4 separate regions of the Homo sapiens genome follow, and all the other regions are linked to region 1. Evidence: promoter capture Hi-C in 16 types of primary human blood cells and fetal thymus (Javierre and others, 2016). All regions are on one chromosome and are shown on one strand. Each heading gives the region's core, a stretch centred on a gene start or on the middle of the fragment in contact. The rest is flanking DNA. Distances are from core to core; before and after follow the strand shown.

What was found. The method cuts DNA at HindIII sites, captures the fragments that hold promoters and counts their contacts. A CHiCAGO score of 5 or more calls a contact.
Region 2: a contact is called between a fragment that was not itself captured here and the fragment with the promoter of CDS1 in region 1, in 2 of 17 cell types (non-activated CD4 T cells and activated CD4 T cells). The highest score is 6.2, in non-activated CD4 T cells.
Region 3: the fragment with the promoter of GPAT3 here is called in contact with the fragment with the promoter of CDS1 in region 1 in 2 of 17 cell types (M0 macrophages and M2 macrophages); the score reaches 6.8 in M0 macrophages.
Region 4: a fragment that was not itself captured here is called in contact with the fragment with the promoter of CDS1 in region 1 in 3 of 17 cell types (M0 macrophages, M2 macrophages and M1 macrophages); the score reaches 6.9 in M0 macrophages.

The regions. Positions count from the first base shown.
Region 1 is chr4:84,581,540-84,584,834 of GRCh38, reverse strand. CDS1 (CDP-diacylglycerol synthase 1) reads right to left here and starts at 1,708. Exons shown (of 13, transcript NM_001263.4): 1 at 1,317-1,708. The coding sequence starts at 1,433. LOC102723338 (a long non-coding RNA gene) reads left to right here and starts at 2,614. Exons shown (of 8, transcript XR_007058460.1): 1 at 2,614-3,286. RefSeq lists silencers at 1,752-1,851, 1,892-2,101 and an enhancer at 962-1,915. The HindIII fragment of the contact is 8,586 bases long and covers 1-3,295 here.
Region 2 is chr4:83,478,800-83,482,094 of GRCh38, reverse strand. The region is part of intron 2 of ABRAXAS1 (abraxas 1, BRCA1 A complex subunit); the gene reads left to right. Among named protein-coding and RNA genes, the nearest start is that of ABRAXAS1, 4.7 kb to the left of the region's middle. The HindIII fragment of the contact is 5,215 bases long and covers 1-3,295 here.
Region 3 is chr4:83,534,354-83,537,648 of GRCh38, reverse strand. It overlaps GPAT3 (glycerol-3-phosphate acyltransferase 3), which reads right to left and starts at 1,541. Exons shown (of 12, transcript NM_032717.5): 1 at 886-1,541. The coding sequence starts at 1,026. The HindIII fragment of the contact is 15,854 bases long and covers 1-3,295 here.
Region 4 is chr4:83,554,874-83,558,168 of GRCh38, reverse strand. The region is part of intron 2 of GPAT3 (glycerol-3-phosphate acyltransferase 3); the gene reads right to left. Among named protein-coding and RNA genes, the nearest start is that of GPAT3, 20 kb to the right of the region's middle. The HindIII fragment of the contact is 1,882 bases long and covers 863-2,744 here.

The sequences.
Region 1 (3,295 bases), core at 459-2,958:
AATTGTTATATTTTGGGTAATTCCTTGACACTTATGTTTTATTACAGACTCATTTTATTCTACTTACTATCAAGGGTAAGGGGAAAAGTGTCACTACATTGATTCCATTGATTCTAAAGTTTTAGTACTAAGAATCACGTTTACGTTTATTTCGTGATATCATGTGATATGTTCCTATTAGGGCTTTGTAATTTGGGTTACATCAAACTCATCAACATCAACTTTCAGGTGGAATCCTCCCCAAATCAGAACTGCCAGCCAGTCTCAGCAACCACATAAACCAGAAGAAAAGGAATCAGGAAACTTAGATTCTAGTTTCAAGAGCCACGAACTTGACCTTGGGCAATCCACCTCACTTCTGTAATTCAAACTGCAATGCCTGCTTCCAAAGTATGCTTCTAGAAACAGTTTACGTGTTTTGGGTTTCTCAAATAAAATGGAATTTTCTAAACAGACGGTTTGATACAACAATCTATTCTCTGGTCCAATTTCCCAAACCATCCAGTCCATAAGATCATAAAACTGCATTTCTTCACAAGTTCTTACTTGCACCACTATATTACCAAACACGCCCGAATTCCTTTTCTAGCTTTAAACAGATAGTAATATCGCATCTACTTATTCTTAAATGTGAAAGAAGAGTAATCTATAGAAAAGGAAGTGAAAAGTCTTCATGAATTAACGTCGGGTTATATGAAATCTACTGGTAGACAGAAGAATTGCACTGTCTGTCGTGTACTCAAAAGAAGCTGGAAGATTACTATTATGTCACGTGCATGATACTCTAAAACCTCCAAAATCTATCATACTGAAAAAGGATGGAGAAAATGTAAGTGCATATGGGGCAGCGCGAGAAGCCAAGCCTCCCGCGTCAGGATCCGATGAAATGATACAGCCGACGGTGGCACGTCTCTAGTCCTTACTAACTTTGTTCCCTCTACTGAAAAGAGAGGTGAGGTGGCAGCTACTAACTGCACTGCAGCCCCTAGGAGGACAGGTTCCCTCCTGATTCCAGCGTCGGCCCCAGATCCTGAAGAAGGGACCGGAAGAGGATGAAGCTAAACTGTAAGCCGGGTTGAGTGGCCCATTTCTCCCGGGCAGCGGCCGCGGTCATCCTGGGAACCTCACCGCCACTGGGATCCCGGGTCCCGACCCCCTCTGGAGAAGGAGGAAGCAGTGCCAGGCAGGGAGGAAGGTGCACCGGCAGCGTGCAGCCTCACCTGACGCTGGACGGGCCCCACCCTTGCTCTCAAGTGTCCCGCTTCCAACCAGGACCCAGCCAGGGCGCGGCGTCCGCCTCTCTCGGCTCCACTTACTTTGTCGCTGGTGCTCTCGGTTTCGTGGTCGCCGCCGGCCGCCTCTCCCTCGCGGTGTGGCGGCGACACCGCTTCCCTGGGGCCGGGGCAGCTTCCCCGGTGCCTCAGCTCCAACATCTTCCGCTCCCGCGCTGCCGTGGCGGCCTCCTCAAGCACCCCGAAACCTGAGCTGCAAGCAGGGTTCTGCAGGCGGGGCGCCCCGCCACCTCGCAGCCGCGCCCTGGAGTCCCGCGGAGCCGCAGCCACTAACGCGGCCCCACCATAGAGCGGCCGCCGCGCCGGTCACCTCCAAAACGGCATCAACGAGAGAGCGCTCGAGGCCGCCTGCAGCGAGCGCGGCTCCGGCGGAGGTCCCGGGCAGGCTCCGGGCGCCAGGCGCGAGCAGAGAAGGCGGAGACGCGGCCTCCGGTTGCCAGGTGCGCGTCTCCACGCAGAGGCCCAGGTAGGAGGAGGAGAAGGGGCGGGGAGAAAAGGAGGACGCTTGACCCGCTTTAGCGCGGCTCTGGGCTCCCGCCGCCGCGCAGGCCCCTCCCGCCCCGCCCCCCGGAGCCGGACTCGGAGCCGGCTTGTCCCGGCCCCGCACACTTCTCCCTGCCCGGGCCTCCCGCACCAGGTCTCGCGCCGCAGGCCCCGCCCCTCTGCGCTGCACTGCGGTTCCCACAGCCCCGCCTCCCCGTGAGGTGACGTCAGGAGCCCGGCCCGCGACCCCGCCCCCGCCTCTGCGTGCTGGCAGGTGGGGGCCTGAGAAAAGGTGGGAGCGGTGGGGCGGGAGGAGGCTGAGGAGCTGGGAGGCGGAGGCGGGGCCAGCGCGGGCTGGAAGTGAGCGTTGAGAACTTGCAGGCTAGTCCCTGGGCCGCTGCGAGGGCTGGAGGAGCTACTCAAAGACGCCCGCTAAATGTTAACAGCGCTCAACACTGCTGCTTCAAACGCCTCCCCGGCCTTGTCAGCTTGACACGCGCGGCGGGTCGGAGGCTCACTGGACCAGAAACTTGTCTGGCAGGACGGACTGGTTGGCCCCGCGGCATTCCAGCCCAGTGTCATCACCTTGAAAACAGGAGATGCTTTTGCCTCACTGGGCGTCCAGAGGTGCGTCGGCCAACAATTCCGATCACAACCGCAGCGCCGTCTCCCAGAAACTCAGTACTGAATCTCACAAAGGTCACCACCTAGGATCCCAACACAGTGTGAGATGCTATGGGACGCCGTTGCCCTCCAGCTAGTCTCTGAGCAGTGGTGGACCTTGGGCTGCCAAAGCGGGAACAGGAAGGGCACAAGATCTGCATTAATTCTAGTCTTAATCCTGTTAGAAGGTGATTAGTTTTCTTGACATGTATCCGCCACCCGGTCATTACTGACAAGCTAACAAATGAAAAAAAGAGAGAAACAAAGAGAAAAAAGAAAAAAGGCGGGCCTTCACACAGGACAAGGTTCAGGAGAGCACCCTTATAGAAATAGATCAACTATGTAAATTCCTCAAGGTCTTTACTGACACGGTAAAAGTAAGTAAAGTGTTGAAAATTTACTAACAAATGAGCAAAACCAAAAGTCAAATTAGGATGCATTGAAAAGCAGAACACAAAGACATCATTTTACCTCACCAAACAGATCTTTGAAGCTGTGCGGTTAGTTTGGGTTGCACGTTTTCAAAAGGATGTCGAGAAACCATAATTTGTTCCTTATGGGGTGGATAACTGAAATGACAGAGAAGATTTGAAAATAAGTCCCTACTGAACAGAGAACTATGGGGTGACTACATTAATAAATTGTCCAATTGTTTGGAGGATCGGAAATGAAGGAGTGCTTGATAGTGAAGAAGATAATCAGAATAATGGCTGAAGCCAGTAGTAGGGTTTCCATCTCTGGCTACTACCCTACCCTGCATAAAGGATTAGAAGTGCTCCATTCTAACTCTCTGGAAGTCAAGAAGCCTGAGTTCTAGTGCTGCCAATGCCACTAATTGCATGGCCTTGGTAAGTTAT
Region 2 (3,295 bases), core at 412-2,911, 1.1 Mb after region 1:
TGCTGAAAGGGGTCAGCGTAAATTATTATTTTTAAATTAGGAAATACAGAGGCTGGGCAAGGTGGCTCACACCTGTAATCCCAGCACTTTGGGAGGCCGAGGCGGATTACCTGAGGTTGGGAGTTTGAGACCAGCCTGGCCAACATGGTGAAACCCATCTCTACTAAAAATACAAAAATTAGCCAGGTGTAGTGGTGCATGTCTGTAATCCCAGTTACTTGGGAGGCTGAGGCACGAGAATTGCTTGAACCTGAGAGGCAGAAGTTGCAGTGAGCCGAGACTGTGCCACTGCACTACAGCCTGGGCAACAAAGCGAGACTCTGTCTCAAAAAAAGAAAAATAAGAAATATATATTAATTTTAAAATAATTTAAAAGGATATGTTGTACTCATTTTGCAGTTAAAATTATGACCATGGACTGGTCTAAAGTAAGAAATAGTATGAGACTTAGGAAGCAGATAAGATTACTGCCAGGGAAACAAGGATGAAACACCTGCTGTTTAGTAGGAAGATGGCCCGGCAATAGGAAGACCAAGGAAAAAGATAAAATGTTAAATGCTGCAGAAAAGTTGGAAGATGAGAACTGAGAAAATGCAGTAATTAGATTATTAGATGACTGAAAATCCTCAGTAATTTCTGGAGCGTAATGGGGAAGAGACCAGGCTGTAAAGGGTTTGAGGAGTGGGTGCTAAAGCAGTTATAACTGGTGGCAGCTTCTCTTTTAGGGAAAAGCAGGGGAGAACCTTTAAAATGCATAGGGAAAAAAATGGTTAAAAGAAATAAAATGTATAGGGAGTTTTCTGATTGTCTAATATAGTTTTTCTCTATATATGTGTATGTATTTTTAAACAAAATTGGTAGTGTACTTTATAAAAGGTTTGGCATCATATTGTGTCATGATCACTTTACAATGTTGCATAATCCTCTACAATATTATTTTTCATTTCTTTTCTTTTTTTTTTTGAGGCAGAGTCTCACTCTGTTGCCCAGGCTGGAGTGCAGTGGCGCAATCCCGGCTCACTGCAACCTCCGCCTCCCAGGTTCAAGCGATTCTCCTGCTTCAGCCTCCCAAGTAGCTGGGATTACAGACGTGTGCTGCCACGCCCGGCTAACTTTTTGTATTTTTATTAGAGATGGGGTTTCATTATGTTGGCGAGGCTTGCCTTGAACTCCTGACTTCAAGTGATCCACTCGCCTCGGTCTTTCAAAGTGCTGGGATGACAGGCGTGAGCCACCATGCCTGGCCTACAATACTATTTTTCATAACTGCATTGTGTTCTACCCTGTGGCCTTACTGTGATTTAAACATTCCTTTAAATATGTTATAATCAGCTGTTTCTAGTTTTTCATTATCATAAAGTATACTACAGTGAATATCCTTGTATATCAATATTTGGCGTTATCTATTATAGATTCCTAGATATGGTATTACTGTGTCACAGGGTATGAACACTTGTAAGGTTTTTGATCTGCATTAGCAGATTGCTTTCCGGAAAGATTATATCAGTTTGTACTCATACTGTATGTTATTTTTGTTTGCTACTTTACAAGTTTAAAAATAGAAATATATAAAGTAGGAAATAAAAAATTTAAACTCTCATTAGTTTCCTTAGTGGCAACTACTATTTCATGGATTCTTACTAGCTTGCAATATTCATAAAACACACAAATGTAAATGTGTGTGTGTATATATATGTGTATATATACATTTTGTTTTTGTTTTGAGATGGAGTCTCATTCTGTCGCCCAGACTGGAGTGAAGTGGCATGATCTCGGCTCACTGCAACCTCTGCCTCTCGAGGTCAAGCGATTCTCCTGCCTCGGCCTCCGGAGTAGCTGGGATTACAGGCACACGCAACCATGCCCGGCTAATTTTTTTTGTATTTTTAGTAGAGATGGGGTTTCACCATGTTGGCCAGGCTGGTCTCGAACTCCTGACCTCAAGTGATCCTCTCACCTCGGCCTCCCAAAGTGCTGGGATTGCAGGCGTGAGCCACCATGCCCGGCCAAATGTGTATACTTTTTATTTACACAAATGGGATCTTACTATATGTGCCTAATATCTCCCAAGATATCACAAGTACAGAATAGTATCTGTGTGTATAATTCATCACTCTTTGTTTTTTTTTTTTTTGAGATGAGGTCTTGCTCTTTCAGCCAGGCTGGAGTGTAGTGGCACAAACACTGGTCACTGCAGCCTTGACCTCCTGGGCTTAAGCAATCCTCCTGCCTCAGCCTCCTGTATTGCTGGGACCATAGGTATGCACCACCACGCCTGGCTAATTTTTTATTGTTTGTAGAGACAGGTTCTCACTTTGTTGCCCAGGCTGGTCTCAAACTCCTAGGCTCAAGCAATCCTCCTGTCATTACAAAGTGTTTGGATTACAGGGGTGAGCCACCATACTCGGCCCATCATTCTTTCTGCTGGCTGCATATATCCTGTTGTATAGACGTACCATAATTTTTTTAACCATCTAAGAATGATTTTCTGGGTTTTTTTGTTAACATAAACAGTATTACCATGAACATTTAGTATTGTACATTTCTTTGTGCTGTTGAGTGTATATTTGAAAGTCACACTCCTGGAGGTAGACTAGCTGATTGCCTTTTGGAAAACTTATGCCATTTTAGGCTTCTCCACAGTATATAAAAGTGCCTAGGTCCCCATACTCTTTTTTTTTTTTTTTTTTTGAAACAGAGTCTCACTCTGTCACCCAGGCTGGAGTGCAGTGGTGGGATTCCGGCTCACTGCAACCTCTGCTTCCCGGGTTCAAGTGATTATCCCTGTCTCAGCCTCCCGAGTAGCTGGGATTACCGGCGACTGCCACCACACCCAGCCAATATTTGTATTTTTAGTAGAGATGGGGCTTTGCCATCTTGGCCAAGCTGGTCTCAAACACCTGACCTCAGGTGATCTGCCCGCCCTGGCCTCCCAAAGTGCTAGGATTACAGGCGTGAGTCACCATGCCCGGCCCCCATGCTCTTGCCAACACTAGGTATTATCAAATCTTTTAATCTTTGCCAATTTGATAAGTGAAAAAAATAGCATTTTAATTTGCATTTCTTAATTACAAAAGAGGTTAAGTATTTTTTTGATACTTTTTACTTTTTTTCTTGGCCATTTTCTCTGAAAAGGATAGGCCTATTCTTTGGCTGCATTTGTACTGTTTTGCTTTTAGTGATTTGTAATCACATTACTTAAGGAAACTGGGCTTTTGTCATGTTTTATACATATGCTAATACAGTTTATAATTTTTTTTCTGTCAATAAACACTTTAATGAGAACCGAGGTCTA
Region 3 (3,295 bases), core at 292-2,791, 1.0 Mb after region 1:
CCCTGTCTCTTATGTTAAATATACACACACACACACACACACACACACACACACACATATTATACATATAATTAAATTTTTTTTTAAAAAAAGACTCCTGCTTCTAACACTTAATTCAAAGAAACCACTGATCTCTGACTCTCAGTTTCCCTCTCTGTAAAAGGGGGTTGGCACTTGCCCTCCCTACCCTACCCAGCCTTTTGACACTTAATAAAACCCTAAGAGTAAGCTGCAGTTGTTCTCTACCAGGCCTACTTCCATCTAACATTTTTCTTTGCAGGATTTGGAAACAGGAGGGTAGGGAGACCTGAGGTCAAAGAATATATACCTTTTCAATGGCATTTCAAGTGCTGTTGGTTAGATAAAATTTCCATGACTCCACTAAAATAAAATAAGATTTCTTTCTGCCATCCAGCAATTGGTCTCTTATCTTGGGCATAAAGAAGAACATGATGCCTTTCTGAACTGGATGCCTTAGTACACAAAAGGACCTCTGAAACCTGGGGCTGTAAAAACAAGCGGGTGAAGCGGAAACTGCACTGCATAATGGATATAAGCAAATCCTCTGATACAAAAAGTTGGTCGCATTGTTGTTATTCTAATCAGTAAAATAATAACGATGCTCAGGGAGTGGAATGATTTTTTCGCCTTCGACCAGAGAAACAACAGAGTGGTCCAGTGGTTCCAGCCTAGATCCCTCCAGCTCCGCGAAAGAAGCCGAGATGCTGACTTTCGCACTGCTGCGGGCAAGGAACAGAAATGCACGCACGCATGCACACGCGCGCACACACACCCCTGACTCGCGACCACTGACCTTGAGAACTGGACCCCCGGGTTCTCAGCCCGCAGCGGTGTGGGGCTGGCTGCATCCCTCCCGGCACTCACCTCTAAAGTTTTCACTAGGATCTTCATGTAGATCTCGGAGATGCCCAGAGACACTCCGAAGACCGAAGGTAAAAGGATGAAGCCGAGAACCAGCGTCAGCCAGGTGGAAAGGATCTTCCCGGCCAGCTCTGCGCCCTCCATGACTCGGCGCACCCACTCAGGAGAGGTCCGCAGTGGAGGGCCGAGCGCCACAGCAGTCCCTGTCCCCAGGCAGTCCCGCGGGAGCTCCAGGAGCAGAGCGCCGAGCCCGGCACTCACCTCTGCGAAGGGAAGAGAGGAAGGAAAAAAACTTTCAGAATTACGGCAATATCCTTCCTTCCTCCCTGGGCTCCTCCTCGCCCCTGCCAGTTAACTCTTTCTCCGCTGGCTGCCCAGGTCTGGGCTGAAGCCACCGCGGCGTGCGGAGACCTGGGTAGCGCGAGCCAGTGGTCGGAGCTGCGGGTAAGCGGAGGCACACCGCGGCGCGGGCAGAGCGCGCGAGCGCAGCCAGGAACCCGCCCCGCCCGGTGCCTGATTTCCTCTGGGTGGCGATTGCGACAACTCAGCAGATGACTCACGGAGGCCCTCCCCGAGCCAGGTTCCCTGCGGGAGCACCGCACTTTGGCACACCGGTCGCCGGCGGAGCTGGCACCGGGCCGCGGGCTGTGCTGGAAGCTGGCTGCGCTCGGGCGCCCAGCGCCCTATTTCTGCGCGCTGCCCTCGCCCCACCTCCTCCGTCACCCAACGGGGGAGCTCCCTGGCAGTACTTAGCCCAGGAGTGCCGCAGCCTCCTGGGCGGTCTCCGTTCTTCCCCGCGCCCCGCCTCCCCCAGCACTCAGCAAAGGTCCTTTCAGGAGGAGAGTTTTCATCTGAAAAATGTCAATATTTTCTTCACCCGCAGAATGAACTGCTGACGTATCTGGGACGCTTGAGGTCTTGTTTGTGTGGGTGTAAAACGAACTCTTGGAAAGGGCTTCCAAGGACAGGAAAACGCAGAGCGCACCACGCAGCCGTGTACGCCGCTTCTGGCTTCCACACCTCCTTCCCCACATGGCCTACAGCTGTGGGGCTCAATCTTGCTTATCCCGAGAGTAGGAAGCTCTCTCCACGCGTTGCCTAGCCCACTGAGCCGCCATCTCCCTGGCACAGAAACCCTGCGGCTAAGTATCTGTCACTCCCTTTCTGGGGGAAGATTCCAACCACACCTTCCCCTACCATTCAGCCAATACTATCCGCGCTTAGGCGTAGCAGAAATGCCAGGCCGGCGCAAGCCTTCATTCACCAAGCTGACAGGTGTCTCCTGGGTGTTCAGGCTCCGCGCTTCTACCGCGCCAGCCCTTATCAGAGCAACGAAGGGCAAAACCCTGTATGTTATTTACTACATTGCTGTTCTCTTAGAGACCAGAACTATTTTTAAGAATGAGCAGAAGGGATTTTGAGAAGGGATTTTCCAGATTGCCGCTGAATTCGACCAAAATCTCTTACAGGTACTTTTCAGGTGTTGTTTCAAGCTGGAAAAAAACTGAGAGGGCCAGCAAACTGAATTGAAACAGCGCTGATAGCAAATATTGCAGAGAAAATGGTCCCTGCCCAGGGTGTGGAGGAAGTGGGGAGCCAACGAAGTGACAAGCCCCTCTGTAAAGAATGTAGATGTCTGCCTTAAGTACTTACTGCCAGGTAGCTGTCACAAGCCCCCTCCCACACTAAGAACGGAAAAAATTATAACTTGATGATTAAAACCAGGTTATGGACCGGGCGCGGTGGCTCACGCCTGTAATCCCAGCACTCTGGGAGGCGAGGCGGGCAGATCATCTGAGGTTAGGAGTTCAACACCAGCCTGGCCAACATGGCGAAACCCCCGTCTCTACTAAAAATACAAAAAAATTAGCCCCGCGTGGTGTCGCACGCCTGTAGTCCCAGCTACTCAGGAGGCTGAGGCAGGAGAATCACTTGAACCCGGGAGGAGGAGGTTGCAGTGAGCCGAGATCGTGCCACTGCACTGCAGCCTGGGAGACAGAGTGAGACTCAGTCTAAAAAAAAAAAAAAAGGGTTATGAATGAAGAAGTGTTAGGAGCTTGGTTTCTCAAAATTAAACCTCTGTAAGGTTGGCTAGTTTAGAAAAACACGGAAAACGCAACTACCGAAAGCTGCCCAAAGTCCTTGCTTTCAAACACTATATATATTGAGTGCAAAACTTCAAATATTATATTGGCATATTTAACACCATATGTTCAGGCAAAACTCTTATTTTCCTTTTATTTCCTCAAACCAAGATAACTAAGGAAGGCTAAATCCTTGTACCAAAGTTTACCCCACAAGGGAGATAATACACACAACTTTGCGTGTGCTGAGTGCACACACTCTCCAGTGATTTTTGGTGCTCATGAACAAACTCCACAAAATGGTTTTGGTTTGGTTTTGTTTTAACTGT
Region 4 (3,295 bases), core at 554-3,053, 1.0 Mb after region 1:
GATCTTGGCTCACTGCAACCTCCGCCTCCCCAATTCAAGTGATTCTCCTACCTCAGTCTCCCTAGTAGCTGAGATTACAGGCATGCACCACCATGCCCGGCTAATTTTGTGTATTTTTAGTAGAGATGGGATTTCACCATGTTGGCCAGGCTGGTCTCGAACTCCTGACCTCAGGTGATTCACCTGCCTCGGCCTCCCAAAGTGCTGGGATCACAGGCATGAGCCACCACACCCAGTCAAGATGACTTTAAATTCTATTCCGGTTTCCTACATTGTTTAAAACTCTGAGTCTCCAATCAACTTCATTGCCCTTTACATTATGTCAAATTCATCAATACTACCTCAAACAATAAAATCAAATGCATGCCAAAACCCAGCTACTCAACATGTTCCCCAACTCTCAGTTAGTGACCCTCTCTGGTACACAGCGTGAGAACCCCTATCTATCCTCCAGATCAGAGGTAGTGCAAAGGCCAACTCCAAAACAATGAGACATGAGTAGCTGTCTGCTGGATTGCATGAAAGAGTTCTGAGGACATATCATGGTTTAGGGCATCTTGTCCAACCCATGGCCTGTGGGCTGCATATAAATGTGTGTTGGGCCACATTCAACATTAAAACATTATGAAATTTTTTTGCAATTTTTTTTTAAGCTCATCAGCTATTGTTAGTGTTAGTGTATTTTATGTGTGGCCCAAGACAATGCTTCTTCCAATGTGGCCTAGGGAAGCCAAAAGACTGGATACCCCTAAGTTAGAGTCAAACTTCATCAACTAGTGATGTCTGCCAGGATGATGGCAAGGGAACAGACAGAATGGATTTGCTGACCCTGTTATTTGGGATTAGAATAGAATCAAAAGCTTTACTAAAATAAAGGTAACTTCAATACTCCGATTGCTACATGGTTTGCACATTTGTAATAGAATAATTTGTACCCCTCCCCTTTTTTATAACTGAGTAATTTTCTGCTAGCATCTCTCAGTTACCAAAACCAAGTTAAATGTACTGCCATAGACTAAATCTTTGCATCTGCCAAGACTAGTGTGTTGAAACCTAATCCCCAATGTCAGAGTATTTGGAGGTGGGACCTCTGGGAGGTAATTAGATCATGAGGGTGGAGCCCTCATGAATGGGACTATTGCCCTTATAAGAAAGGTCCTAAAAAGATCCCTCACTCCTGTCATCATGTGAGGTTACAGCAAAAGGACAGCCCTGTACAAACCAGGAAGCTGGGCCTTGATCTTGGGCTTTCCAGCCTCCGGAACTGTGAAAAATCAGTGTTTGTTGTTTATAAGCCACCCACTCTATGGTATTTTGTTATAGCAGCCTGAGTGGACTAAGACAAATACTAGGCTAGAAGCAATAGATTTACTTTTTTTTTTTTTTGAGAACCGTAGATGAGAAAATCTAGTTCTTTTTTCATCATTGCATATTCCAGTAGTTCTCCAAAAACTTACAAAATAATCAATGCTGATTATAAAATAGGAAAATTTTAACCCCAAATATAAATATTAGCCACATAATTAACTGTGAGTTTTGATGCATAAATGGGGATGGGGTGGAGCTGAGGACACTAATCAATTGTCAGTTAGCACTGAAAAAAAAATAGCGTTGAGAATAACAGGCAGAGTTCCCTTTTTTGTTTGTTTCTTTTTCTTTTTTTTTTTTCTTGAGACTGAGTCTCACTGTGTCACCCAGGCTGGAGTGCAGTGGTGCAATCTCAACTCACTGCAACCTCCACCTCCTGGATTGAAGTGATTCTCATACCTAAGCCTCCCAAGTAGCTGGGATTACAGCTGTGCACCACCATATCCGGCTATTTTTTTGTATTTTAGTCAAGACAGGGTTCCACCATGTTGGCCAGAATGGTCTTAACAGAGTTTCATTTTAACGACTAACATTTTAACAACCCACTCTTGACCTACATCTTGGCTGGCAGCCCACATTAACTCTGTTGATTTGGATACAGCTAACTTGATTAAACAAGAAATCCCACAGCACAGAAGCATTCATAAAACTCCACTGTCAAATGAACCATTAATTCACTTAAAATGTCAGCCTTGTGGTTTGGCATTTATGTATGGTATCTTTGATTGTAATGCTAAATATTCTTAATAGATTTGTTTCTTCAAAAATTTCATTGATAAGGACAAACTGTTAGGAGCTTCCTGGTAAGTGACTATATAATAAGAAAAAAACAAACTGACTTTTCTTCTACTATACTCTCACCAAAACACAGAACACTCCTGTGACCCCAGATGTGTGGGTTTTTCTCCCACACCAAACAATTCTTCGACACCAGCTAGATGTCCCATAATTCAATTAAATTTTGACACTATCTACCTGGAGTTAGAGTCAAATTCCACAAATGAAGGGCTCAGTTCTACAAGACCGCCTCCACTTCAGGTGCCAATTGCAAGTCCAAGCCTTTGGTACTTCTGATCTACCAGCTATAAATTGAGCGTTCCCATAGTCCCTTCCTCAGGTTCAGTCATTTGCTAGAATGGCTCACAGAACTCAGGGAAACACTTTACTTACTAGTGCTGATGTATTACAAAGGATATTTTAAAGCACACAAATGAACAGCCAGATGAATACTGCACTGACGACAAGGTTCAGAAGGGTCCCTAGCACAGAAGCCTCTGTTCCCATGAAGCTGGGGTGCACCTCCCACCAGGCACCTGGATGTGTTCAACAATCTGAAAGTTCTCTAAACCCTGTATTTTTTAGTTTTTATGGAAGCTTCATGACATCAGCTTCCATAAAATGATTAAATGATCGATTTAATCATTGCCCTTTGGGGAGCAATATGGAGGGGAGCTGAAAGTTCCAACCCTGTAATCACATGTTTGGCTCCCCTGGCAATCAGCCACCATCCTGAGGCTATCTATCCAGGAGCTCCCAGCCACCAGTCATCTCATCAGCATACACAAAGACACTATCACTTATCACTGCAGAGATGCCAAAGGTTTTAGGACCTATGTGACAGGAAAGGGAGAGGGAGCAGAAGTCTAATACATATTTCTTATTATGTCACAGTGACAAAGCCAACTCTCAGAAGAGGAGGCCAGGCGCAGTGGCTCACACCTGTAATCCCAGCACTTTGGGAGGCCAAGGCAGGTGGATCACCTGAGGTCAGGAGTTTGAGAACAACCTGGCCAACATGGCAAAACCCAGTCTCTACTAAAAATATAAAAATTAGCCGGGCATGGTGGCGTACACCTATAGTCCTGGCTACTCAGGAGGCTGAGGCTGGAGAATCACTTGAACCCGGGAGGCAAAGGTTGCAGTGATC